7 separate regions of the Homo sapiens genome follow, and all the other regions are linked to region 1. The links are contacts of gene promoters, found by promoter capture Hi-C in blood cells and fetal thymus (Javierre and others, 2016). All regions are on one chromosome and are shown on one strand. Each heading gives the region's core, a stretch centred on a gene start or on the middle of the fragment in contact. The rest is flanking DNA. Distances are from core to core; before and after follow the strand shown.

Region 1 (3,810 bases), core at 1,046-3,545:
AGAGGGGTGGACCAGGAGCAAGTGGGTCGAGGGTGAGCAAGTGTTGGGAGTGGGGATAGAAACTCCATCCATCTCCGACTGCTCTGCTCGCATATCTGGCTCCAGGGCCCACCTGGTATGTCAGAGGGAATTAGAACGGCCTTGTGAGGAGGCTCAGGAGAAGGGCTCCTGTGCCCACCGGCCAAGTCAGCACTGGGCCTAACGCCACCACAGCAAAGCCCCTCAGTGCAGAGGGCCCAGCTATACGGAACTGGGCATTGCTTAGCCTGGAGGGAATAGGCAGCTGAGGAGACCTGGAAAACACAGTCATGAAGAGACTGGCCATGAAGACCCACAGACCCTGCGAGCCAAGGCCTTGGGCTGCAGCTGCAGCTGCAGCTCTACCAGCCTGGACCCAACCTCAGGCCGACATCCCAGCAGGGAACATGTTACTAAGGCCAGTTGTAGAAGGGACTTCTCTGGACACATGCCCTACTCTCCCAAAAGACTTAAGCACAGGCCAGTCCCAAAGGCAGAAGAATGGACTAAATGAGCTCTTGTGGCCCCAGCCCTAAGATTCTAGAGGACTCTCTGAAACTTCACTTGAAGACTTGACCTCTGAGTGCAACTGGAGTCACAGCCACTCAGGAGAAAGGGCAGGCTATGCAAGCACGTGCTTCAGGAGCATCCTGGTGAGGTCTTCAGCTCTGACAGAGCAACCCCTCTGCTGCTACCCTCACTGGGGGCAGCCATCTGAGTCTTAAGGAGTTGCTTATTTTTTAGGTCCAAACATAAAATTCAACTCCCCTGGGATCACGTATACAGACAGGCCTATAGCACCTTATTATCAGGTACCATCCTAGTGTGGAAGTCCCCTGGCCTGTGTGCTCTGTGGGATGGGAATGTCCCTTGTCATCAATGTGTCCCCAGGAACTAGAACAGTGCCTGGCACACAACAGATGCCGTTAAATGAATAAGTGAATGACTCCTGCAGTTAGGCTCTGGGTGGGGGGAGCTGAGTGTGAGGAGTGGGGAGTACAGGAGAAAGGAAAGTGGGGATTAGTAGAGGAAGTGGTCAGGTGAGTCAATGCTTCACAGTTTTGCCAAGAGCTAAAGTAACTTGTCAAGAACTTCAGAACAAGGAAAGCCTGAGTGGTGGCCCCTTGCTCAGGGCAGCCCCCAGGCAGGCACACATCTATCCAACAAAGCCTGGAGGACAGGGACTGTGGTAAATCACGCAGGGTACCTGGGAGTCTGACCTCACTGTGTGACCACACTGAGGTCCAGAGCCAACAGTCACTTTATGTGGGTTCGCCTCAGTTTCTCCATGAGTCCTACTCTAAAACCCATCTACCTCCGTGAGCCATGTGTGGGAAGACGAGCTTCTGACTGGGATGAGTCTGGGGGAGCAAGCACATGGAGACCCAGTGCTGTCATTCTGGCTGCCGGAAGGCTGCAGGACCACCAGCGCCCTGCGTCTGTGTCAAGGCCACCTGGGCAACGCGGCGAGGGGTGGGGAGTGCAGGCCTCCTTTCACACAGAGACACACAGGCCTGAGGCCTCTCTGGGTAGCACACATAGAGCTATATTTTGCAATTAATAAACAGGTCAGACATTGAGTCAGTAGCCACAAGTAGAACAGGAAGTGGAAAAAGTCTCCCACTTCCCTCCAGGTGTTTGGGGGCTGGGGCGGTCCCCTCCCATTTCCATGACGTCATGGTTACCAAGAGGGGCAAGTAGGGCACCCTTTGAAGCTCTCCCGCAGAAGCCACATCCTCTGGAAAGAAGAGTTTAAAATACTGAGTTAGAGATAGCATCGCCCCAGGCCACGTGCCGAGGGGAGCAGGCTGGGCCGTTACACCACCCCCCAACCGCAGGTGCAGCAAGGCCAACATGCCAGGCTGGGAGGGGCTGCCGGCCCCTCGGTGACTTGCACCGGGCCCGCAAGCAGGCTGGGGAGGTGCTGCTGGCCCCACCGCTGAGCCGCCTCCCTCACCGCACCTCTGCTGCCCCTCCAAACCAGCCAAGATCAGACCTTGATCTCACCTGATTAAGCGCTTGCTTAGTACAGGGCAGACCCTCGAGACTTATGCTCAGGCCAGTGTCTCCTGGGAGGGAAGGAGGTGGGGAGGCCGTATTTGCCCCCACACAGAGCTAGGGCTGATTCTCTGAGGGACCCCCCCCCAATAGCACCTCCCCCCTTACCCTGATGCTTGTCCATTAGGTGATGGCCCTAATGGACGCCTTGATGGACACGTCCGGGACCCAGGGACCCGGAGACCAGGAATCTGCTGGTCTCAGGGAGCCGCAGAACCTGAAACCCAAAAATACCAGGCTTGATCGCCTGCTCTTCGGTAGTGTCGCCATCCACCCGCATGGGGGCAGCAGCGCTCCACCAAAAAGACCTCTTCTCCCTTTGTCTGTTAATTCTGGAGATAGAAAGCCCCCAAAGTTTAGGAAAAGCTCTTTTCCGAGGAAAATAAAAGGGCAGGTGACTTTTATCCCACAAGTCCCTGCCCTGTGCCCGTCACTGCGCTGGGCGCAAGGCCTGTGTCATCCTGTCACATCCCCCCCCAAAGGAGAGGAGGGCCTGGGGCCTGGGCCGGCAGCAGGGGGCGCTGTTCGTCCGGGATCGTCAGACCCGCTCCACCCGGAGCCCTGGAGGAAGTGCCCAGGGAGGGCTGGGGGCCCGGAGGAGGCCTTGGGTTCGGAATTAGGCTGGCTGGAGTCCGGGATCCACCACATCATACACTCGTGCCTTTGGCAGGTCACTAACCGCCCACCGCCTCAGTTTCCCGGTGGGACGAACTCTCTCTCACAGGTAGTTTAAGAACCAGGCTTTCTTTGGCATTGTATACCTGCCATGTGCCAGGCTGTGTCGTGCTCTGGGGATTCAGTCTCTGTGCAAACTATGACTCCATACAGATGAAGTCCAAGAACAGGCAAAACGCATCACAGGTGATAGAAATTAGGGCACTGTTTGCCTCTGGGGTAGAAGGATGGATTGAAAAGGGGCACGAGGAAACCTTCAGGGGTGGTGGAAATGTTCCATATCTTTATCTTGGGTGATGGCTATATATATATCAAATGCATCATTAGTGTATTTTCATGTAATTATGCCTCAAGAAAGTACTGCTCCCATTAAATACACACACACACACACACACACACACACACAGAGTTTCTGTCTTCAAGGAGTTAACAGTCCAGTGAGTAGTGGGTATGAAAGAGATGTGTTAATGGCTGCAATTGCAAGACAGAGGCTTTTGTTACTATATTCTCCTCAGGCAGGAGTCCTCAGGCAGGAGGCAGGAGAACCAGTTGTTTGTCCCTAAGCGTCACTGCCCCTCACTAGCCTTCTCTCCTGGGGCCTTTAATTTTTCTGAGTCCCCATGTGTTATTATTCACATAGAGATAAAAATACCTGCCCACCTATTCTCAGTGTTGTTGAAGGGATTGAAAGCAGTAATGGGTGTGGAATGCTTAGTAAACTGAAATCCCAGTGCAAATATGAAGTGGGAATGCATCAGAATGCCCAGGAAGACGAACCATGACCCGAACAAGATGGGCTGGGCCAGGTCAGATGGCACTGCCATACTGAGAAAAAAGTGGGCTGGCTGCGGCTTCACACAGCCCGGGAGAGCTCAGAACTCCCCAGGCCCTGCCGGTGCGCTGGTGTTTCTCATAGTATGTGGCCACCTCTCCAGTCACTTCGGCCCTAGGAGCTTCTTGTTACACCATGATTTTGTCACTACCTCCGCAGCTTCCCACCTCCTGCTTCCGGCTTCCAGAAGGAAGCGCGTGATGGAGGGGAAATGACAGGGCCAGGAG
Region 2 (3,794 bases), core at 717-3,216, 460 kb before region 1:
TCTAGCTCTTACGATATTTTATTCACTATATCAAAGGATCAGCTCTGTTTTCTGATTTTTCCCACAGGATCAAGTGTGGCCCAGAAGGTTACTCAAGCCCAGTCATCAGTATCCATGCCAGTGAGGAAAGCAGTCACCCTGAACTGCCTGTATGAAACAAGTTGGTGGTCATATTATATTTTTTGGTACAAGCAACTTCCCAGCAAAGAGATGATTTTCCTTATTCGCCAGGGTTCTGATGAACAGAATGCAAAAAGTGGTCGCTATTCTGTCAACTTCAAGAAAGCAGCGAAATCCGTCGCCTTAACCATTTCAGCCTTACAGCTAGAAGATTCAGCAAAGTACTTTTGTGCTCTTGGGGAACTCACAGTGTTTGAAGTGATAGTAAAAGCAAAACAAAAACCCTAGGGCTCAATAAGAGAACCCCTCTACTCCCCATCCTTTGCTACAGGAGCCAATCTGAAATGCACACCTGCAGATCTCAGGCAAGAGAGGGTAGTGACTGTGGTCTGTGGATTTAATCTGTGGTCTGGATCAGATGATTTAATTCCAAGTAAAACCTCCTTCTATCTCACTTGGAAACAGGTGTTCAGAGCAACTTTCTTCTAATACTTCAATTTTTACTTAAAATAGATCATACAGAAAATGTGTAAAGTTGTCTAAAGTTGGAAAGACTTCCACATAATAACTTAAAGTGGCAGTCTCACTTAACGATGCTCACAGCAGAAATCTGGGTCTAGTTATCTTGAATCACCATAAAAATCATTTCCTTAGCCCTTTCCTCTTAAGCTTTATGTCAGTTAGGATACAATCAGGGAAGCAGAACCATCGTGAAAGATGTAGAATAAGATTAATTATAAGGATTAGACCTCATGCAATTGCTGGAACGGGTGGCTCTCGGAAGTTACTTAGTTGTTTATGTTTTTATGAAATTGTAACAGGAATAAAATGTAATCTTTTCAAAATCTGACACTGAGTTTTATGTACTAGGCTGAAGAGGATCAGGACATTCAGTCCTATTGGCTTCACAAGTAGAATAGTACTTCTTAGATCATGTGTCCTAGAATTCTCCTGATACCACATTTCTATCCCATTAATCCAAACTATTCAGTCTCACTTGTTAAATTCTGTGGCTGGGCATGTTTTTCATGTGTAAAATAAAGTCGTGATAAGCATGCCAGATTTCTGTGATACGATGCCATAATCTGCTCTTACTCCTATGCAAAGCTGTTTGCTGAATTTACTCTAGGTCAGCTAGACTCACATTTGGGAAGGAGAGTTGAACATGGACAAGAGCATGCAAAAGCTGTGATTTGTAAAGACATTTTGGAACCCATGGTGACAGGTGGAACCCACGAGGACAAACTAAAACTTGTCTGTCTCTTACCTCCTTCAATCTCATAGTGTTGGTGACCTTCAGAAGAAATGGTGTTATTTGCTATCATGCTCCCTGGGTACTTGGCCCAAGAAAAAGAGAAGCTGAAAGAGGAGATCTGGGGGGAGTGGGGGAGTTGTGAATCAACAATAAGATGAGTTAGCAGATCAGAGCAACATATGTGAGTTGCCACAGTGCCTGGAGCCTGGCACCTGCCTTACACAATTTTTTTCAACTTAATCGAGAACAATATAGGGAAGGATTTTCTTAGAAATATATTTCCAGGTAGTTACGACGAGACAGTACAAAGTTACCACAATACCCCCACCTTGTAAACTTGACATCCATATGCACCTCTTTTAATAGCACTTAGCTTTCAAATAAAGGCAATTTTAAAAAGCATACTTCCTGCCAATATGATGCCACTGTTCTTCATTCAACCACACATACCCTAACCCTCTCCCCTAAAGAGAATACAAAGTATTTATTCATCTTTGGGTGATGTTCTTTCCTCTTCTAGCTGAGTCACACTCTCCCATTGATATCCTGTAGTTTAGCTTCTGAGATATAACAAGCTATAAGAGTAACTTATTAACATATCTTTCACTATTATGTATAGGCAAATGGGAGGAGAGTAAAAAATGGTTGACATGTATTTTAATATTTTCATATCACAATGAAAAAGAAATGTTTATAACAGTATAGTCTTTTTTTCCACAAATGGTCACATGATTGTAGCTGGTTTCTATAACTACCTCTTCCATTACCCATTTCATAATCTGTTTTCAGCAAGCACCTCAACTCACTGGTACACTTGACTTTCTATAAAACAAGCTCCTTGGTCAGGAGCAATGTTATACAGAATGCCATAAAGTTGAGTAAGGAATTCTCTAAGCCCACCACTGTGGTTTTGCCAGAAGCACTGCAGATGTGGAAGGAAAGTCCATATTCAGAATGTCTAAGTGGACTAAAACAAAGCAAAACTTGCCAGCAGCCAGAGAAAGTTGATATATCATGATATATCATGATATATCATGTCTTTAAGAATGATTGCTGAATTCTCATCAAAATCAACAGAAGCCAAAGAGGAAAAAGTATTTTTAGAGTACTTACAAAACAAACAAACAAACAAACAAACAAAAAAACTCTCTAGCTAGCTTCCTATGAACATGAAAGTCTAATTTTAAACCCTTTGTCAAAAATCATTGTTAAAAAGGTGGAAAGTCAGTGCACAGATTGGGAAATTATATTTGCATTGGTGTATTTCTGAAAAAGATTCAAATGCAGAATATATAAAAAACTTGTACAAGTCAACAAGCAATGAGAAAACAATACAAATGGCCAAAACTTGAAGAGACACTTCAGAAATATGATATCTAATAGTAATAAGCATACACAAAAAGCACTTAATATAATTACTCATTAGGAAAATGAAAATGAAACCCCATTGAGTGATCCCCCTGTGCCCTTTCAGCACCCCAGTTGTATTAATGTAGCCAGGAGGAAATGACCACAAGAGGATAATGAAAAATAGTGACTACTTCCAGGGGAAGGGATGGCCAAGTAGGTTTTCTAGAAACTTCTGTTAAATTAAGTTTAGCCTAAAGCTGCCTCCTTATTTATTTAAAACTCAGGGCAAAGGTTTCTCCATACATAGGGCCCTGTAACCTAACAGGATGCATAAACAGGCTACAGTCTGCTCTCTACCAATCCCTAAGTTTCGGCCATAGGTGGCCAACTGTTCAAACATGTTCAAATAAGGCAAATGCCAAGCTTTAACCAATCCATCTGTTTCTGTACCTTACTTCCTTTTTCTATAAGTCACTTTACTTTCTCTGTCCATAAATATTCTTTGACCATGTGGCAGTGACAGAGTCTCTCTGAACCTGTTCTGGTCTGGTGGGGGGCTGCCTGAATCTCTAATCGTTCTTTGCTTAATTAAACTCTGTAAAATTTAATTCGTCTAAAGTTTTTCTTTTAACATGTCCATCATTGAACCATGTTCAGTGGAAGAAGAAAAAGCAGTAACAGGCTAAAGACCGGAACACTGAAGGAAAGCAGGTTTTACTAGGAAAAAAGAAAGTTGGTATTCATTGGCCATACTATATGTCAGGCACTATTTATACATTTCAAATTCATTACCTAATTTAAGCATCATACACCCTACGAGATAGGTTTTAGTCTTCCAATTTTTTATATTTGGGAAATGAGACACAGCTTTCCCTAACTTTGAAAAGCATCTCTAACTAAAGTCAGCCAGGGTGTAACATCTTAGAGGGCTCCTAAAAAATCAAAGTTTGGACTATGGAGAAGCAAATAGCCACAAAGCAGCAGCATTGGCTTTCTCAGTGAGGATGACAAGATGACAAACCTAGGCACAAATTGCCTCAGGATCAACAGATGGAGGAAATCACCGACT
Region 3 (3,674 bases), core at 398-2,897, 420 kb after region 1:
GGGTTGACAGGCTTTTGAGCCCAGACTTGATCCCATAGGCAGAGGGAAGCCACTGTAAACAGTTGCTCTGGGGAGGAATGGGATGAAAGTGATTCATCTGGTGACAGGCTTCTTTCCCCAACCTTCTCTCAATATCCATTTAGTCCCTGATCCCGCTCCTCAGCCTCACAGTGAGACTTCTCAGCTGAAAGCACTTTACTTACCTTCTCCAAAATCAAGTGACCACAGACACAGCATTTCTCAGCTGCCTCCTGAAACCCTGAAAACTAAAGTAAAAGACAAGACGAACGGAGGCTGTTATCAAACTGAGAATGATGGGTGGTACTCCAATGGGCCACCAAGAAGGGGGTCAGTATGGAAACCAATTCCAGGTCCAGGTGACCCTTACTCACCAGATAATCTTCCTCACAGTACACAGAGCCATTGACACTGTAGAAAGCCTTGCAACGCAAAGTTCGCCCTAGAAACAATAGAGAAGGGGCTGGAACCTATCCCACAGCCCAGGTGCAAGACTTCTGGGGTCACTGCTCCCCGCTGCTGCATAATATATTTAAACCTGGACTTTGTGCTTTTCCTCCTAACTGCTGTCTGTCCTTCCCCGCACAAAAATTCCATCTGATGCAATTCCAATTTGCTTTGGCTTCATTCCAGCCAACTTCCCCTCTCCTCTGCTTGCTGCTCCTCCAGCTCCTGCCTCCTTAACAGTTTTCTAGGGCCCCTCCCCTAAACAAACTGCCTTCCTCTCCAGTGCATAGGAAGCCACCTGGGAGAGTAAAGCCAACTACGTGCTGGAATACGTGAGCTCTTAATAAGGTGCTATATGATTTGCATAGAGAGAACCACATTGTTAACAGGCCTTTCCCTCTGGGACCCTTCAACCTAGAAGCCTCTTTGCCTGAGCATATCTATCCTGCTCTCAAATGCCTGTCTCCTTCCAGGGACAGACTCCATGGAGGTCAGGACTGGAGTTACTGCAGAAGGACAAAGTGCTTTGTTTGGAAGCAAAGCAGGTCCCCTCTCCTGTTTGTATAAGGCTGCTTCCCTAAGCTTAGAGGGACCCAGAGTCACTGGGGTAAGAGACAACCCAGGATCTTCTTCCAGCAGACAAGGCAGGACAATTCCCCATGTGACCAACCCCCAGGAACTGCTCCCAGGTGTCTACATTATCAGGGATAGGGAAGGAGTGAGAACAGGTGGAGCATGAGCAATTTTCCCACCTTTGCCTTCTTCCCCTCAAAATCCCTACTTCCAACTCTGTCCAGTGGGTTAGGAAAGCTGACTTAGAAGCTCATGAGACACAGGGGAGGAAAGATAGGGAAAGAGATATAGCCAGAAGAGGCCCTGTAAACAGAAGGATAGACAGACAGATGAGCCTAAAGAGAACCAGGCAGAAACTGGGGGAGTGAGAAAAGCTGAGTGCTGAAGTCAGACAGGCAGAGATAGGAGATTAAAGGTTTAGCAAAGGAATCAGAATGGGTAAGCAGTAAGGAGGGGGTAATGAGGGAGGGGAGGGGGGCAGTTAAGGCCGCTGGGAGCATCCCCCCTTTCCAAGTGGGCCTCCTGAGCTAACAGTGGCAGGCATTCCTGGAGCGTGATGTCATCAGCTTGGCATGGCCCGGTGGCCTGCACTCCAGTGAGGTGGCTGAACTCTGACCAGCCAAGAGAAAACCCCCCTCTCCGCCCCAAACAGCTCCCCACTCCCCCAGCCTGCCCCCACCCTCCCCACATTCCAGTCTTTCACTGTCGCCCCAGGCAACTTGGCTGCCCAAGACCAAGCCCCACCAAGAAGCTGGAGGGCCAGGCAAGTCCAGGATGGGCAAGCAGGGAAGCACGAGAGGGAGAAACAGAGGTGAGGAAGGAAGGAGGGACTCCAGAAAGGGGACCCACCAGGCGGAGGGAGAGCCAAGTAGAGGACAGACAGGGAAGCAAGAGAGGCAGAGCAGCTGCGGACCTCCAGACACTTGGTGGGGATCCAACAGCTGCTCTGTGAGCAAATGAAGAGGCACAAGCTCTCCTCCTGTTCCCCATAGCACTTGTAAGTGTGTATGTGGGCAGGGGAGGGGAGTGCTTGAGTATTGGGGCTACACTCACCACAAGAGCAGCAAACAAAGCACTGGGTGTGGTAGAGGCTGTCCAGGGCCTGGCAGGCATTGCTCTGCCCATAGATGCCTTTGTTGCACTTGATACAGGTGCCTGAGAAGAGAAAAGTGTCACACTCTACTCCCCCAGGTCAAAACCAGGGATTCCCAAGCTTTCCTGACTGCCCTTTCCTGATGTGCCAGGGGTCACAGTCTCCCTTTGATGGGCTCCCTTCTGAGTAGAGAAGATAACGAGTAATGAGATGCAGCAAGATCTTGGCTGAGCAGATCCATTCTTGTTTATTTAATTACTCAACAGATATTTTCTGAGCATCTGTTTTGTGCTTAACACAGCACCACTACCTAAGGAAACCTGGAGAAAGTCGAAGATATGGTCCCTGGCATTCAGATGCTTAGTTTCTGTTGGGGAGAAAAGACTACACAGGCAAGGTATGATCTCTGTTGCAGTGTGTAGGATGAACGGTCAAAGATGCCAGTCCACAGGTGCTCAGCAGCAGACTTGAAAATACTTTCTAGAGAAAGCAGGCTAGGCCCAGAAATCGTCTCTGGGACTTCAGTTTCCCATCAGTCAAACGAGCTGTTCAGTTATAGAATGATTTCTCTCCACTGCAGACTTCCAAGGATGGAGAAAAGGATCTGGCTTGGCAGAGGGCTCCGTGCAGAGGGGACCATGTGAGCATGATTCCTGTGGGGAGGTGGCTGCTGAGAATGCAGGGTGTGTTCCAGGAACCAGGGTTGAACAGGAAAGCAGGGAGAGTAGCAGAGCCCCTGATGCCTCCTAGTCACCTTCTATCATGGGAAGAATACAGAACTGAACTGCTTGCTATTCCCCAAAATCCCCCACTAAGATATATACACCTGGCTCTGGGACTTGCCTTTCCTGGGTGTGTTCTTCCCTCCCTCCACTCCCCAATTCCAGGCCCATGAGTGAGGGCTAGGGCCTGTCTTTGGGGAGCAGATCCCAACGGGCCTGCCCCACCTCTCCCCCTCGGCACGCTGCCACACTCCCTGCCTGTTGGGGCCCATCCCAGTCTTTGCCCAGGGGCTTGGGAGCCTGTGCAGCAGCTGCAGCAACTGATGGGCCCAGGCCTGTCCTGCTCCCACCCTCTGGCAGCTGGGCAAGGCTGAAGCCAAGGAAGAGGGCCCCTACTAGGGGCAGGAGGAGGGTACAGTCAAGCTGGGGCTAGCGGCACAAGGGGTATGTAGGGGTTCTGTCAAAGGAGGCAACCTGACTCCCAAGGAGAAGGGGCCCCCATCTCTGAATTCAAAATGTGGCTTCCTCATGGAAGTGAAGATCTGCCCCAAGATTGCCATGCCAGGGGGTCCTGTCGGAGCCATTCTTTAGGAAACCTTGGACGTTATGGGAAAAGCAAACGAAACTGCTCAGGCACGTTGGCCTCACCTCCTCTAACCCAGCATATCTATACCTATGTTCTTCCTGCCATTTTATTGCAGTTTCTCTGAGTTCCTTTCTTCCTTTTGGCTCTGATGGTTCAGCCAAAAAGACTTCTTTACTAGCCACCTCTCCTGGGCCTCAAAATGAAACTGCTAAATGGGCCCTGTCATTCAGTCTTC
Region 4 (3,896 bases), core at 1,091-3,590, 440 kb after region 1:
CCTAGAGAGTGTCTCAGCTCCCCAGTGCTCCCAGGGCCTGACTCTTCCAAGGCACTGTCCAGCGCAGCAGCGGCATTGAGCATGTCCTCAGGGCGGGGTGGTGGCAGCTTGGTTCCATTTTCTGGTCCTGTCTCTGGGGTTGCCCGCTGGATTGCCAGTTGTGTGGCTGGTGAGAGTTGCTTGGCATAAGCAGGGACCAGAACTCGCTGTACTGCACCCTCAGAGGCCACGTAATCATCCACCAGCTAAGAACATAAAAAATAATAGCCTATTAGCCAGCCAGGCTTAGGGGAACCTGGTTAACCATCATTCTTTGGCTAAGAATAGTGAACAGAAAGTGGAAAGAAGGGGAACTCTAGCACAGTCTTTAATGGTCAATGGCTTGTTTCTCTGGGACTCCTATGAGTGTTGGGCAAATATTTCTTGTGTGTACAGGGCCTCTCATGTTGGGTTGTTACCATAGGGCTGCTCACAAGGAGAAAGCATGTTTCTGACACTGTTGGTGAATAGTCATTTATGGATAGCTCTTGGATATAAGAAATGGAGCTAGATAAGTGTTTTGTCTGAAAGGACTGGGTGAAGAAGTGATGACAAGAAAGAAACCAAGCAAGAGAAGGAGTAAGAAAATAAAACAGTAACAGCAATAAAGAGGAGACATAAAAGACAAATGAGCAAAGGAGGAAGACATAAAGTCAGAAATCCCTAGAGAGACTGGCAGCAACAGCTCCCCTCACCTATCCTCCATTCCCAGAGTCAGTCCATGCCCTCACCTTGATCCTGCCCCGGCCACATTCGACTGTCATAGCCCCTGACATCTACCTGACTGCCTGTGCCCTCACTCAAGGACATACAGAGCCGGGAAAGGAAGAAGGGAGCAAGGGAGAGAGGGAGGAAGAAAGGAGGGGGGATTTCTGCAGTCAAGAAAACAAAATACTGAAAGTGGGGACACACACGCACACGCACACACACACACACACACACACACACAGAAAGATGCGGGGGAGGAGGCTGAGATTTATAGACCTGTGAGCTGCTTTCTGCGCTGTGAAATCTAATTCCATCCTGTCGGCTTGGAAGCCTTTCCTGCCTCAAAGAACCCACAGCTCAGGGCAATGCCTAGCCTGGTACCTTTCTGCCTCCCACCTTCCAGGTCCTCCCTTGAGCTGGAACCACGGAGAGTCCTGACCAGCCACAGACTGGGGTGAGCAGCAGTGGCCATTACCCATATGGCTGTGCCTTCAGGAGAGCAATGACCAGTTGCTGTGTTACACTGGAGGGGGAGAGAGGGGTTTATGTATTCATTTCTCAGATCCAGCAGATGGGCTGGGAGTTTCATCCCTCCCATCTACTCCATGTGTTCTGCTCCTTTACTCTTTACTGGGTGTCTATGTCTTGTTGTGGGGGGAGGAGAAAAAGAGAGGACAGACGGAGAATAAGGTGGAGAGCTGACAGAACTCCAACCGTCTCTCAAGTGGCACCACATCTGTTATTTTCCTATCTCTAAGATCTCTATAGTTGCTCCATCTCCTTTTCATACTTCCATGTGTGACATTCTGCAGTTCTTACTCTACTCAGCCAGGATTTTCCTGCTCATATGGCCCTTAAGCAGTAAAGAAACTGAAATAGCACAATGTACATCTATGTCTTTTCCTGCTCACAAAATATGCTTGCTTGCTTCCTTCTTTTCTTCCCTCTTTCTCCCTATATGTTATTCTCTTACTGTTAACAATCAGTTGGCCATTTCTTTTTCTCATTTCCCATTTTATTTCCTTTCCTCTACCTCCCCCTCGCCTTACCTCATAGTCTCTCTCCCGTGGTGTAGATTCTCTTTCCACATAGATTCACCTTTCTTCTGTGCTCCCTTTTTTCACTTTTTCTCCTCCCTCAGCCCTTCATTTCTACTTGTCTCTTTCCCTCCCTATACTTGTCTTCTATTATCTTTATCTTTGTCCTCTCACTTTTTCCTCCTCTCTCCACCTCTGCCTCTCTCCCCTGTACATTCCCATCTCTCTTTGTACTGAATTCCTCTTGGCAAGCAGAGGGCCTGCGATAAAATATGAATGAGCCGTCTGTGCACGGCAGGCATCCTCGCCAGGAGAGGCAGAGTCCATGGAGCAGCCGAGACAGCTGTGGAAGAGAAGGTGCCATGCGGAGCTACTGAGAGAGAGGGAAGGGCACCCCATCACTACACACAGCAAAAAATGACCTTCTGCCAAAGAAGCTGATGGTTCAGGAAGAAAATAGAGCTGACTATCCCTGAAGGAAAAGGAAACGTGGTACTGTTTTGCTTTATCACAAATACAAACAAAAGGTTTAAAGATGGAAAGAAAAGAACAGAAAGGAAAAAGAGTGAAAAGCCAGGAAAAGCACCTAGGAGGAATAGCCCTCTGCTGCCATACTCACAGGATTGAGCAGGGGGGCCGCCTCGCTGGCAGCCAGCGTGCACCCTGGGAGCCGCATGTCCCTCTGAGTTGCTGGGAAGCCCAAAGGCCCAGGCCCCACTGAGGCTGCTCCCAGCTGCCGCAGCTCCTCAATCACCACCTGCACGCCGCTGCCCACGCTGTCACACTCCTCTTCCACGGCAGACAGAGCCTTAAAGGCTTCCCCGGGACTTTCCTTGAGAGGCCCAGGCTCCTCAGGTGGGGAACTATGTGCCCGGCTTTCCCCATCTTCATCAGGGATGGACACTTTCCCTTGCCTCAGGTCACCCACTTCCTCCTGGAGACGTTTTAACAACTCATTGTTGGCCCTGGCAAGACCCAGAGCAGCTTCAGCCAAACCCACTGCCTTATCGACCCGCTGGTAGATAACATGCAGGAGCTGCTCTGAGCTCTGAACAGCCAAGCCATGTCCAGTCACTGTGATGGGGGTGCTGGGAGGAGGATTCCCACCCTGGGAGCCTGTGTTGCCTCCATTAGTCTCACTCTTACAGGCGCAGCAGCAGCATCTGGCCTCGCTGCCACTGGGAGGGGAGAAGAGAATGGTGGCACTGAAGGACATGGCGGATGGGGCAGTAACAACCACGCTTACACTGCTGGGCCGCTCCAACAGGTAGGAAGCATCAACTTCTCTGGACTCACTTTCCTTTCTCAATGAGGATGGTCAGAGGAGCCCAGGCCCCAAGCTGTAGGGTCTGTGAAAGAAGAGTAAACAAGCCATGAAGAAGCACACAGTCCATGGCGGCCTCTCCTCGGCCTGCAGAAGGGAGACAGGTGCCTTCTATTTGCAGATCCTGTGCTCTCCTAGCACATCACAAATCAAGGCCTTCCTGATGAACGGTTTCAGACGGTAGAGAGCATTCCTTCTGCCCCCCAGCATGGAACCCCCGACTAGTGCAACCTAAGGAACAGGGAAGGGATTCAGAAGGACCTTCCGGCATCTGGAAAGATTAGAAGATTAAGGAAGAAAATGTAGATCTGTCTCCTCCTCCTCCTCACCATCTTTACTGTAATAATGGTACTGCATTTCATTGCTTTGACATTGTTCCTTAAGGTGTTCAGAACACTTCACATAAGTTACCTCATCTACTCAACAGCACTAGGAAACATATTACTCCAGGTCCAGAGAAGAGACATGTGGAGAAGTTATATGTCTTTTTCAAGGTCAGAGGAATAACAGCAGAATCCAGTTATTGCTACTTTCAATGTAGTGTTGTATTTTTTTTTAACTGATACCACTTTTTGTTGACATTAACAATCATGACAATCATGATTCTACCCTCTCTGTAATTTTCATACAAATGCATTCAGAGTAACACTCCTAAATAAGGAATACATCCATCACTGCAGCCCTCAGCATGTCACCAACTTCTCACTGTTATATTATATCATTAATGCTTTGGGGATGAGGGCAGGGAAATGAAATGAAAAGATCAGGGAATTGAGCTGGGGTAACCC
Region 5 (4,027 bases), core at 960-3,459, 400 kb after region 1:
CCCCTTCTCATTAGTGCCTCCCCAGTGAAGGGCAGATGCTGAGAAAATGGTGGTAATTGCTAACATTTATTGAGGGCCTACGATGAGTCAGGCACTACGCCAAGCATTTTGCTTGCCTTGCCTCGTTTTTTTTTTGAGACGGAGTCTCGCTCTGTCGCCCAGGCTGGGGTGCAGTGGCGCAATATCGGCTCGCTGCAAGCTCCGCCTCCCGGGTTCAAGCAATTCTCTGCCTCAGCCTCACGAGTAGCTGGGATTACAGGTGCCCGCCACCACGCCCGGCTAATTGTTGTATTTTTAGTAGAGACGGGGTTTCACCGTGTTAGCCAGGATGATCTGGATCTCCTGACCTCGTGATCCACCCGCCTCGGCCTCCCAAAGTGCTGGGATTACAGGCGTGAGCTACCGCCCTCGGCCAGGCCTCGTTTAGTTCTTAAAGCGTCCTGTGAGAAAGTCACCATTATACTCATTTTACAGAGGGGGAGAACTGAGGCACAAAGGGTTAAGTTCGAGGTCGCCATTTGGGGGGTCTAAACCTGTCCCAATAGCTCTCGGAAGGAACCTTCCCAGACCTGCCACCCAAGCCGCGTCCTGCGAGTCTCCTCACTAAGGCCTGGCTCTGAGGCGCTGCCGCCCAGCCCAGCCCAGCCCAGCCCAGCCCATGCCGGGCACCATACAGTGCTTCCTCAGGGTCACCTTCCTCTCGAATTCCCACCACAGACTCCCTATTAGCGCGCATTCCTCATTCGCCTGTTTTGTTTGTTTGTTTGTTTGTTTTCTTGGGGGTACGGAGTTTCGCACTTGTTGCCCAGGCTGGAGCGCAGTGGCACGATCTCGGCTCACCGCAACCTCCACCTCCCAGGTTCAAGCGATTCTCCTGCCCTAGCCTCCTGAGTAGCTGGGATTACCCGCACGAGCCACCACGCCTGGCTAATTTTTATATTTTTAGTAGAGACAGAGTTTCACAATATTGGCCAGGATGGTCTCGCACTCCTGACCTCAAGCAATCTGCCCGGCCAAATATCTTTCACCTGTCTTAATCTTTTTTTTTTTTTTTTTCCAGACGGAGTCTTGCTCTGTTGCCAGGCTGGAGTGCAGTGGCGCGATCTCTGCAACCTTCACCTCCCGGGTTCAAGCGATTCTCCTGCCTCAGCCTCCTGAGTAGCTGGGACTACAGGCGGGCGCCACCACGCCCAGGTAATTTTTTTTGTATTTTTAGTAGAGACGGGGTTTCACCACGTTGGCCAGGATGGTCTCAGTCTCCTGACCTCGTGATCCGCCCGCCTCGGCCTCCCAAAGTGCTGGGATTACAGGCATGAGCCACCGCGCCCGGCCCACCTGTCTTAACCTTAAACCCAACCCTCACTCCCACCCACACCTTCGGTGAATTATTTCAAAAATATAAATTTAAAAAAATAAAGAGCTGGGCATGGTGGCTCACGCCTGTAATCCCAGCACTTTGGGAGGCTGAGGCGGGCGGATCACGTGAAGTCAGGAGTTTGAGACCAGGCTGGCCAACCTGGTGAGACCCCCGTCTCTACTAAAAATACAAAAAATTAGCTCCAGAGGCTGAGGCAGGAGAATCGCTTGAACCCAGGAGGCGGAGGTTGCAGTGACCTGAGATCGTGCCACTGCACTCCAGCCTGGGCAACAGAGTGAGACTCGGTCTCGAAAAAAATTAAAAATAAATAAAAATTAAAAATAAAGAAAATGTTTAGGCGGGGTGCAGTGGCTCATGCCTGACCCAGCACTTTGGGAGGCCGAGGCAGGAGGATCACTTGAGCCCAGGAGTTCGAGACCAGCCTGGGCCACATGGCGAGACGATCCCCATCTCTACAAAAAAAAAATACAAAAAGAAAATATGCAATACTAAGTAAACTGTGCCAAGTATATCACATCTTTTACATTAGATAAGGTGATAGCCTGGAGTGATAGGAAAGGAATCTCCGTTAGGTGTGCTGAGAGATGGGGAGTTTCGCCTTTTCCTTCAGTACCAGCTACAGAATTCTATTAATATGCATAGAGGAATGGTGTGGTCCAGTGAAGAAATTTTATATTCTTGGTCAGCTCATCAGCTGCCACCTTTCATGCTTAATATTGAACTGCTGTCATTTTCTGAAGCTTTTAAAAATCATTTATGCTTCCTCAGCTCTGAAGCACAGCAAAGTTAAATATCAGGCATAATGTCCATAGCAAACGGCACTTGGAACAAAATAGCAAGTATGCTTTGGTGACTCAGAGCTGATCGGAAATCTACTGAAATTTTGTCTCTCAGATTTGTCAAGTTCTCTAATATGGTACTACGAAGCTTTGGCTAAAGTACTTTGGGGAATGAGGGGGTGAAGGATGGAGCAAGCTGTCTTCAGGTAGGAGGACAGAGGGGATAGTGATGCAAAGAAGCCTTGAATTGGATCAGACCTTCATGTGCAATTATCTGTTCCATCTCTGTCTCTACAAGTTGTGTGACCTTGGGCTTCAGGGTCCTTATCTGTCAAAAGGAGGAAATAACTTATTTCTAGCTCCTCCAATCTCATAGTGTCGATGTAATGATCAAATGAGATAATGGCTGAGAAAGTGCATTGGAAAGACTAAAAGTGAGGTGTTTTAAATTGACACTTATTATGCACCTATTAAGTGCCTTGGGAGAGACACAAAGCTAAATATGGCCCAGTCCTTGCCCCAAAGATGTTCATAATCTAAAAGATAAGACGTATGCACATGAAAAGCAAATAATACAAGGCAGCAAACTGGTGTCAAAAGAGCAGTTTAGATTATAAATACTAGAGAAACATGAAGAAGGTACAGAATTCTTTCTGCAGAAATAGATAGGATAGAATAGATGAAATAAATCTTACTTTCATTGGGCCTGAAAGGATAGAGAAAATTTGGATCATTTAGAATGAAGGAAACATCCCAGCAAATGGAAGCAGAGACAAGGGGAGTATAAACTGCATTCTAGGTCCAAGAGGAGACAGGACCAACCGAAGTGAAGGATTTTATAGGCCAGCTCTACGTAAGACTGGAAAGTTAAGCCTATAGTCCATCCTGGCAGTTAAAAATGCAGCAAAGGCCGGGTGCGGTGGCTCAAGCCTGTAATCCCAGCACTTTGGGAGGCCGAGGCAGGCAGATCACGAGGTCAGGAAATCAAGACCATCTTGGCTAACACGGTGAAACCCCGTCTCTACTAAAAATACAAAAAATCAGCTGGGCGTGGTGGCGGGTGCCTGTAATCCCAGCTACTCAGGAGGCTAAGCCAGGAGAATGGCGTCAACCCAGGAGGCGGAGCTTGCAGTGAGCGGAGATTGCACCACTGCACTCCAGCCTGGGCGACAGAGAGAGACTCCATCTCAAAAAAAAAAAAAAAAAAAAAAAGAGTGCAGTGAAGTGCTGGGAAAAAAAGTTTATAATCAGACACCATCCGGTGTCCTTGAACAAGAAAGAATTGTAAGAAAGGACCTAGAATTCATTCATATTCTCTCTCTCTCTCTCCCTCTGTCCTTCTCTTTCCCTCTTTTTTGCCAGAATTTTAAAAAACAGCTTCATTGAGGTATTTTGGCACACAGTATTTAAAGTGTACAATTCAATACATTTTGATATAACTATATATGTGTGAAACCATCACCAAGATCAAGATAGTGAACATATGTATCACACTCTAAAAGTTTACCTGTGCCCGTACGTAATTCTTTTCTCTAGCTTCTCCCTGCCCTACTCAACCATCAACTCTGTTTTCTGTCACTATAGAATAGTTTGGACTTTCTAGAATCTTATGTAAATTGAATCAAATAAAGATGTACTCTCTATGTTGGGGTCTCACTATGTTGCCCAGGCTGGTCTCGAACTCTTGGGCTCCAGTGATCCTCCCACCTTGGTCTCCCAAAGTGCTGGGATTACAGGCATGAGCTACCACGCCCGACCAATTCATTTTTAAGTTAATGTCATTTTATTGCTGATAAATATGAAATCCTATTTAAAACCTTAATTTGGGCCGGGTGCGGTGGCTCACGCCTGTAATCCCAGCACTTTGGGA
Region 6 (4,112 bases), core at 1,196-3,695, 410 kb before region 1:
GGCTCTTTCAGGAGCAGCTAAAGTCAGGGGCCATGTCCACCATGTGATAGAAAGACAAGATGGTCCTGAAATTCTCCGTGTCCATTCTTTGGATTCAGTTGGCATGTGAGTTGAAAAGGTTCCCAATTAAATTAACAGAAAATCCCTGATGGCAAGTTGTTTTATGGCAAAGTATGAAAGGAGGAATTATAAAAGAAGGAAGAAAGGGGGAAAGCAAGGGAGGGAGGAGAAAGGAGTAAGGAGGGAGGAAAAATCATTTCAGGTTGGGAAACAATCCCTAATTCCCTTCCCTGGTTCCTTCTGCTCTGTTTCTAAACAGGGGTGAGCACCCAGCTGCTGGAGCAGAGCCCTCAGTTTCTAAGCATCCAAGAGGGAGAAAATCTCACTGTGTACTGCAACTCCTCAAGTGTTTTTTCCAGCTTACAATGGTACAGACAGGAGCCTGGGGAAGGTCCTGTCCTCCTGGTGACAGTAGTTACGGGTGGAGAAGTGAAGAAGCTGAAGAGACTAACCTTTCAGTTTGGTGATGCAAGAAAGGACAGTTCTCTCCACATCACTGCAGCCCAGACTGGTGATACAGGCCTCTACCTCTGTGCAGGAGCACAGTGCTCTTGAGGCACCTGCTGCCTGCACCCAAACCCTGCTGCCAGCCCCAGTCACGAGGCTGCCACATGCCTCCAGCTCCGCCTCGCACAGCTTATGGCATGAATAGAGAGAACAACCTCAGCCCCTCATGGAACCATTTCTGCTGCCTTTCCAGAAAACATTTTCCACACACACTGGAGGACAAGACCCCTCTGCTATAACACAAATATCTGGAAATGCAGCCTGCTATTAGGATCATTAACGATATGGGCCTGCAACTCCCCGGGGTAGGCAGTAGCAAAGAGAGTCGATATAGAGGGACAAATGGAAGCTATCAGACAGACTGTTTCTGAGTGTTCCACCCCTGTGTAGAAACAAAGCAGAAGGCACCAGGGAAGGGAGCTAGGGATTCTTTCCCAACCTGAAATGAGTTTTTCTCCCTCCTTCCACCTTTCTCACCCCCTCATTCTCTCTTTCTTCCTTCTTTCATTAATTCTTCCTTTCATAGTTGGCATCAGGGATTTTCCATCTCTTTAGGATTTTCTGTTAATTTAAATGGGAACGCCTTCAGCTCTCATGCTAATTGAATCCAAAGGATCAACATGGAGAATTTCAGAATACTTCATGGTTCAGATTGGTCATTCCGTTTTCCAGAAGACCACACCCAGGAATGTTCAGTACAATGGGGCAGAAATGGATGGTTTCCCAGCTTTCTTGTAGTACTCCAGAGATGATGAAGCTGCTATCTTTCCAGACTCTTACACTGCAGTAAAATGCAGAAGTATTGTAAAAATTAGAAGAAAGTTACTACCTTTTTGGAAGAAAGATACCGATAGTACACCTCAGTAGCATCCAACTGTGGTTTCAAAGCAACATCCTAGTTGGTGGTTCTGAAAGTGACCAAACATTAACTACAATGGCCTGTATGTTCACAGGACTGGCTTGGGGAAGAGTCTTTGAATGGCAAATGTCAATAACTTCAAGTTTTCAAGCCTGAAGAAGAAAGAAGTTGGCAGTTTCCTCCACATAGCAAGCCCTCCACTGGCCCATTTTCATACTTGAAGCAGTTGTATTTGTTCTGTAAGGCAAGATGATATAGCAAAATGCACATGAGTTTCTGAGTTTTGAAATCAAAATAACTTAAATTAAAATCTCGTTTTTGCAATTTTCTAGCTCTGTGTCCCTGGGCAATTATTTATCCTCACCTACATTTCCTTATAAATTAATGTTAGTAAGAACACCTATCTTGCTGAGTTGCTATGAATTAAATGAGATAAAATACATAAAATTGTCTCAAGTTCCAGGCATAACATGTATACTCAACAAATGTCCTTAAAATAATATTGTTATTGATGGCCGTATGTAAATGTCACCCCTACTGTGGAATTTTCACTGACTACTTAAGGGGGAATGAGTTATTCTCTGCCTAATACTCTGAGTCCTCACCAGAGGAGTCAGGAAGGCAGACACTGCAAGCTGCCAACCTAATCACAATTCTTTTCTGCCTCCTTATTAACAATACCCTCAATTTTGATTTGGGCAACAATATGTCCAGCTTTAAAAAAGCTCAACACTACATTTTACCCTCTCTTGCAGCAAGAGATTGCCATATACATATAGAACAGTTCTGACCAGTGAGATAGGACCAGAAGTTGGATAGGGCCTTCCCATAATGTTTTTTTCTCTCCTGATACAAGTACACATCTCTCTATCCCTCCTTTTCTCTTTTTAAAACATGGAAGAGATAACTTTACCGTAAAGGAAAACACATAACTAATCCCCTTTCCTTATCCCATGCCTGGTAGTCTTTTAGATGCCAAGTCAAATCCAGCCCCCAGATTTAATTTTGCATGAAAATTTTTAATAAACCATTATTTGGTTGAGTTTTCTGTTGCTGCAGCTAAACATAATTCTAACTATAGTAAGATTGACATAAAATGGCTTTATGATTTCTTGTTTCCATGTGTAAAGGCAGGAAAAGATATATAAACAAATTACTTTGTTTATACAAACATGGGGACTCCATTTATGTTGATCATATCTGTTTCATAAAGTATTAATATTCCTATATTTTTTATAAAGGAAAAAAACTTCACCTTTCATTTAGAGAGGACTCGTTATTAAATTTCCATAGCAATTTCTTATACTCATGGAAGATTATGGAATCCAGATTTCATCCTAAAGTCTTTTAACCACAGACAATTTCCATGCAAATAATAACTATAGTCTTACATTTGTCTTAACTTTATATTCCAAAGGTTATTTTTCTTATTTTCTTAACCTTACTCTACCCAGTAATCCATTTTAAAAGCCTCCTCTAAAAACTTTATCACATTAAACTCCTTCATTCTGAAAATTTTAAAGGCAAATACAAATAAAAATAAGAAAACAATTTTAATTATCTCTGATGCAAAAAGAGAAAGACACTCTCCCCTCCCTTTCGTTAGAGCACCTACTTTAGAAAACTTGTAATTGTGAGTTTTCTATCCCTTTGAAATGTAGGTAAATCTTTTTAAAAGCTAAATAAATCCCTTGCCAGTTTTACAATCCAGGACTGTCTTTCTCAAGAACCTGAGAGCATTTTTTTCAAAATGTAATCACGAAGGGAGGTAGTGCCCTAATCTAGTTTTAGTGGAGAATAGGTGCCTAACTTCAGCTGGTACTTTGCTCCCAGTTGCAAACCAACCTCCTGTCATAAAGATATGAGAAATGTTTCCTTTGCATGAAGGCAATTACGAAACAGGTGGCTACCTCAATTACCAGGTAAATTGAGGATGAACTATGTTTGAAAAATGATGCTGTCAAGTCCTCTTTCTTGCGGACTAGTTATTGTTTATCTTGAGAAACTGTAAACAATCAGTTGCATCTGCTCGGCTATATAAAAGGATAAGATTTCTTTATTTCCTTGTAGTATCTTTAGTGGATTGCCTGTGAGATGCATCACATTCTGGTTTAATGCTTATTCAATAAAACTGTTTTTTTTTTTTTTTTTTTGAGACAGAGTCTCACTCTGTCACCCAGACTGGAATGCAGTGGCATAATCAGGGCTCATTACAACCTGTGCCTCCCAGGCTCAAGCAATCCTCCTGTTTCAGCTTCCCAAGTAGCTGGGACCACAGGTGCATGCCATCATGCTCAGCTAATTTTTTTGTATTTTTATATAGATGGGGCTTCACCATGTTGCCCAGGCTGGTCTCTAACTCCTGAGCTCAACCTATCTGTCTGCCTTGGCCCCCCAAAGTCCTGGGATTACAGACGTGAGCCACTACACCTGGCCAAAACTGTTTTCTTTCTCTTCTACCTTTGTGGGAAGGTGTTATGGGTTGATAGGAGATTCTGTTTTACTTCCTCAACAAAATGGCCCAGGGTCTTTCCCTAATCACTGGGCTTACATGTCTCTTCCTGAAAAGCACCATGACACTATGAAAAGAGCAAGGGTTTCTAAAGGCTCTGTCCCTTATTGGCTGTGTAAATTTGGGAATATTATATTAACTTCATGAGCATCAATTTCCTGATAAGTACTGCAG
Region 7 (3,644 bases), core at 23-2,522, 390 kb before region 1:
GTATATTGTATTTGTAGATAAATGATTAGAGCTTGTTCCTCACAGGCTGATTTTCTGAAGCTGAAGATCTTTACAGAGAGAAGATACAGAAATTCAGGATACTTCCCAAGAAGCATGCGGAAGCCTCTGTAAATCCCATTACTTATGGCATAATCTGAACAGTGACTTCAGGAACAGTGATTTCAGGAATGCTGAAGACATTTTTTATCAGAATAGGGGTGATATATAGGTTGGCTTAGCTTTGTTCATCTAGGGATCCTTGTGGGGTTGGTTTAACTATAAGGTAAAATCTGTAGGTTGATCAATTCTCTCATATTTAATTCTATATTCCTGAACATGGATGTAAAGCTAACTCAGTGTGAATTAGATTTATTATCCCTCCATATCCAGGAGCACCAATATCACATGCAGTATTTTTTCTGTTCTTTTTATGGCTTACATTGGTATAGGCAGGAAAAATTCCAAGATCCTTTTCGTAATGCACGTAAATGAGAATGAAAAGCAGGAAGGAATATTAAGCATCACTCTTCATACTTAGGGTATTCCATGCACATCTCGGGCTCCTACTCTAGAGCCTCAGCTACTCTGAGCAGAGAGTCTGCTGTGCATACTCTTTGCTCACAGGCATCCAGAGCCTGTTCCCAAATTCAAAGCTGTAGCCACAGATCCCAGCAAAAGGGCAGACACGCGAGAGTTGTTGCTGTCTTCTAGCAGGGTGTAGAGAAATGTAGCTACGATGAATCATTTCATTTCAGTTTCAAAAAATGTGGAAATTCAGCTGAATAATCAGTCCAGTTACTATATATCCCTGCTCTTAACAAAACTATTTCAAATACCTTAAGACAATAAATCAGCTTTTCTTCTTTTCAGATATATTTAACATGATTTATAAATTACTGAAACCCATTATAAAGTTCTGTTACAATGGACATTTTTCACTCTAACTGCTGTTACATTTACCCCATTTCATGTCTTGCATAATGGGGAGGGAATATATTAATGCTGTCTTTATCCTTCTAAAGCAACGTAGAATCATACCAGAAAAAGGAATACTACATTCAATCTCATCCCTGTCTTTTTGTTCAAGCTCTTCAGACTGCTTCAACTTTCACATTTCATTCATTCCCACAGTTATCTATTTACGTTCTTTTCTTATCTAATATATTTGGGAAACAGCATTGGGAAAACATACTTTCTAGCATTGTTCTAGCCATAAGTGTGTTGTGTCTTCTTGAGCAAGTGAATCAACTTCTTAACATTTTATATCAGGACCTTCATCTGTAATGCAAGGGCAATGATTTCCAGCTAACATCGGTCTCAAGTTTTATTCATTTTATCAATTAGCAATTGTTAACTGGTTGCCTGCTGAGTTCTGCATAAATGTTACATGCTGGGAAAAAAAGAGCTATGGAAAAATACATATCTTCTTTGACTAAATTGTAGTCTAGTTAGTTATGTAGGCAGCTAATCAGACAGAGTAAAGTGAAATGAGGCCAACCTTGGGAAAGCAAAGGGAGGTATGAAGGCATATGGAAAGTCCCACCCCCATCTTAGCCTTAGAGGTGAGTCAGGGGCAGCCTGTAGTATGTCTTGCCTATGCTGAGACCTAAAGATTTAGTAGGAGTCAATCAAGTTGAAAGACAGAGAAGGTAGTAAAAGTGATCTTAAAGATAGAAACAGCATGTACAAGGTGACACAGAACACAATGAACCTGAGGACTAAAAGCCAGAATTATGCTATAATTAAAATTATGTATGTCATAAAATGTTCAAACCACCACTGCAAAGCAGTTGTACCTTAATTCTCAGTTTTATAAATGAGTAACCATAATATTTGTGAGGTTACCAAATATGTTTTCTATTTACTTGAGATTTCACTTAATAAGGTTATTCATTTGATACCTAATATGTGTCTTAGACTTGAAAACAATAGATGCAAATGAGAAGAATAAGGCATTGTTTCTGCCTTCAGGGAGCATGTAATATTGCAGAGTGTATTACAATATAGTATAATAAAAGCTATCATAGGAGAAGCGTAGAATATAACCACCTAACAGTGGCATTTAATTTGGAAACTTAAATGTAAGGGAAAGCTGCCTACGGGAAGTAGTATCTAGGTTAAGATCTGTAAAACAGTTAGCCAAAAATGGAGTCAGAGACAGGGTATTACAGAAAAAGATAAATAGAATGTACAAAGACATGAAGTCAATATTTAGGTTAAGAGAATGACATTAAACTAATTCAGGATGGCCAGAGCATACAACTCAAAATGTATGTCAGTAAATATAAAACTAAAGCAATAAGCAGAAACCACTTTGTGAAAATAATTAAAAGCCATTATAAGATGTTTGTACATTACATTATCTTGAAGACAATGATGAGCAGTGAAAGAAATCTGCACAAGTAAATAATATAATGAAATGTCACTGTTTGAAAGATTACTATGAGTTCACATACTTATATATTATATCCATGTGTGGGCATGTATATAAAATATATATATGTAGTAAAATACATATAATACATTTTCCCTTGATACTTCTTTTTTCTCTTAATTCTGGAGTAATTCTTTCTGTAACACAGTATATTGATAGGCCCTTCTTATAGCAAGAAAAAAACCTATCCTGTATGAAAACTTACTCAAGAAAAGCCAAAATCCACAGTTTAATCAACATTCCTCAGTCTGGCCACAGGGGAGAGCTGTTTAAAAAGTATTCTAGGTAGATGCATTTAGTTCTCTGCAGTTAAACTGTTGTGATGTGTCTCTGATTGGTTGCCCCCAAAGTTGCAATATCCTGGAAGCAATTGCAACAGGCCTCATTCTGAGTTCAAAGCAACTCCTGTTAAGGAAGCCCATTCAGAAGCTGACTGGATATTCTGGCAGGCCAAGGATGGAGACTCTCCTGAAAGTGCTTTCAGGCACCTTGTTGTGGCAGTTGACCTGTGAGTACACGATTCAGTCTGGGAGAGGTTGTGATATGACAGCATCTTAATGACAATAGCTTTCTGTCTTGGGAAGGGCCCTTTTAAGAACCAGACCTAAGAAGTGAGGAAAATGTACCGTAATTATGTGGTGATGCTTAATGTTTTAAATAAGGAAGGAAGAGAGAAAATCACCCTTCCCTTCACGAGATTGAGCATCTCATTCGATTGTCTTTCTGATCAGGGGTGAGAAGCCAACAACCAGTGCAGAGTCCTCAAGCCGTGATCCTCCGAGAAGGGGAAGATGCTGTCATCAACTGCAGTTCCTCCAAGGCTTTATATTCTGTACACTGGTACAGGCAGAAGCATGGTGAAGCACCCGTCTTCCTGATGATATTACTGAAGGGTGGAGAACAGAAGGGTCATGACAAAATATCTGCTTCATTTAATGAAAAAAAGCAGCAAAGCTCCCTGTACCTTACGGCCTCCCAGCTCAGTTACTCAGGAACCTACTTCTGCGGCACAGAGACACAGTGATACCCAGGCCTCCAAGACCTGTACTCAAACCTAAAGCTGAGCCGCAGATGCTCCCCTAGCATAGATGCCCACCACAGGAGTATGGGGAACTTACCAGAAGGTTCATCCATGATAAAAGAGAAACCTGAAGGAAATTCATTTGCTTCAACATATAACACAAAAAGCAAGCCATGGCCTTAAGACCAT

What was found. The method cuts DNA at HindIII sites, captures the fragments that hold promoters and counts their contacts. A CHiCAGO score of 5 or more calls a contact.
Region 2: a fragment that was not itself captured here is called in contact with the fragment with the promoter of LINC02332 in region 1 in 1 of 17 cell types (naive CD4 T cells); the score reaches 5.3 in naive CD4 T cells.
Region 3: a fragment that was not itself captured here is called in contact with the fragment with the promoter of LINC02332 in region 1 in 5 of 17 cell types (M1 macrophages, M0 macrophages, total B cells and 2 more); the score reaches 8.6 in M1 macrophages.
Region 4: a contact is called between a fragment that was not itself captured here and the fragment with the promoter of LINC02332 in region 1, in 4 of 17 cell types (total B cells, naive B cells, monocytes and 1 more). The highest score is 11.0, in total B cells.
Region 5: a fragment that was not itself captured here is called in contact with the fragment with the promoter of LINC02332 in region 1 in 4 of 17 cell types (total B cells, M1 macrophages, neutrophils and 1 more); the score reaches 7.3 in total B cells.
Region 6: a contact is called between a fragment that was not itself captured here and the fragment with the promoter of LINC02332 in region 1, in 2 of 17 cell types (activated CD4 T cells and naive CD4 T cells). The highest score is 5.2, in activated CD4 T cells.
Region 7: a contact is called between a fragment that was not itself captured here and the fragment with the promoter of LINC02332 in region 1, in 2 of 17 cell types (naive CD4 T cells and total CD4 T cells). The highest score is 7.2, in naive CD4 T cells.

What each region holds. Positions count from the first base shown.
Region 1 is chr14:22,554,767-22,558,576 of GRCh38, forward strand. LINC02332 (long intergenic non-protein coding RNA 2332) reads right to left here and starts at 2,296. Exons shown (of 3, transcript NR_146543.1): 1 at 2,185-2,296; 2 at 2,026-2,087; 3 at 1,545-1,756. LOC105370399 (a long non-coding RNA gene) reads left to right here and starts at 1,800. Exons shown (of 2, transcript XR_007064066.1): 1 at 1,800-2,800. RefSeq lists enhancers at 632-761, 1,342-1,441, 1,492-1,831, 2,692-2,901 and a silencer at 1,942-1,991. The HindIII fragment of the contact is 9,123 bases long and covers 1-3,810 here.
Region 2 is chr14:22,096,255-22,100,048 of GRCh38, forward strand. It overlaps TRA and TRDV1. Among named protein-coding and RNA genes, the nearest start is that of TRD-AS1, 380 kb to the right of the region's middle. The HindIII fragment of the contact is 2,359 bases long and covers 788-3,146 here.
Region 3 is chr14:22,976,253-22,979,926 of GRCh38, forward strand. AJUBA (ajuba LIM protein) reads right to left here. Exons shown (of 8, transcript NM_032876.6): 2 at 2,092-2,193; 3 at 393-460; 4 at 204-266. It overlaps LOC124903287 (a long non-coding RNA gene), which reads left to right and starts at 1,575. Exons shown (of 2, transcript XR_007064076.1): 1 at 1,575-1,849; 2 at 2,398-2,969. RefSeq lists an enhancer at 1,448-1,742. The HindIII fragment of the contact is 1,204 bases long and covers 1,046-2,249 here.
Region 4 is chr14:22,996,024-22,999,919 of GRCh38, forward strand. C14orf93 (chromosome 14 open reading frame 93) reads right to left here. Exons shown (of 7, transcript NM_021944.4): 2 at 2,404-3,379; 3 at 1-245. The coding sequence starts at 3,000. AJUBA-DT (AJUBA divergent transcript) reads left to right here. Exons shown (of 3, transcript XR_007064074.1): 3 at 1,151-2,407. Among named protein-coding and RNA genes, the nearest start is that of C14orf93, 12 kb to the right of the region's middle. The HindIII fragment of the contact is 5,209 bases long and covers 1-3,896 here.
Region 5 is chr14:22,957,286-22,961,312 of GRCh38, forward strand. No RefSeq gene overlaps it. Among named protein-coding and RNA genes, the nearest start is that of HAUS4, 2.2 kb to the left of the region's middle. RefSeq lists enhancers at 9-588, 589-1,167 and a silencer at 967-1,327. The HindIII fragment of the contact is 187 bases long and covers 2,117-2,303 here.
Region 6 is chr14:22,148,033-22,152,144 of GRCh38, forward strand. It overlaps TRA and TRAV27. Among named protein-coding and RNA genes, the nearest start is that of TRD-AS1, 330 kb to the right of the region's middle. The HindIII fragment of the contact is 5,782 bases long and covers 1-4,112 here.
Region 7 is chr14:22,165,539-22,169,182 of GRCh38, forward strand. It overlaps LOC124903284 (a long non-coding RNA gene), which reads right to left. Exons shown (of 2, transcript XR_007064069.1): 2 at 1,312-3,320. It also overlaps TRA and TRAV30. Among named protein-coding and RNA genes, the nearest start is that of TRD-AS1, 320 kb to the right of the region's middle. The HindIII fragment of the contact is 7,199 bases long and covers 1-3,644 here.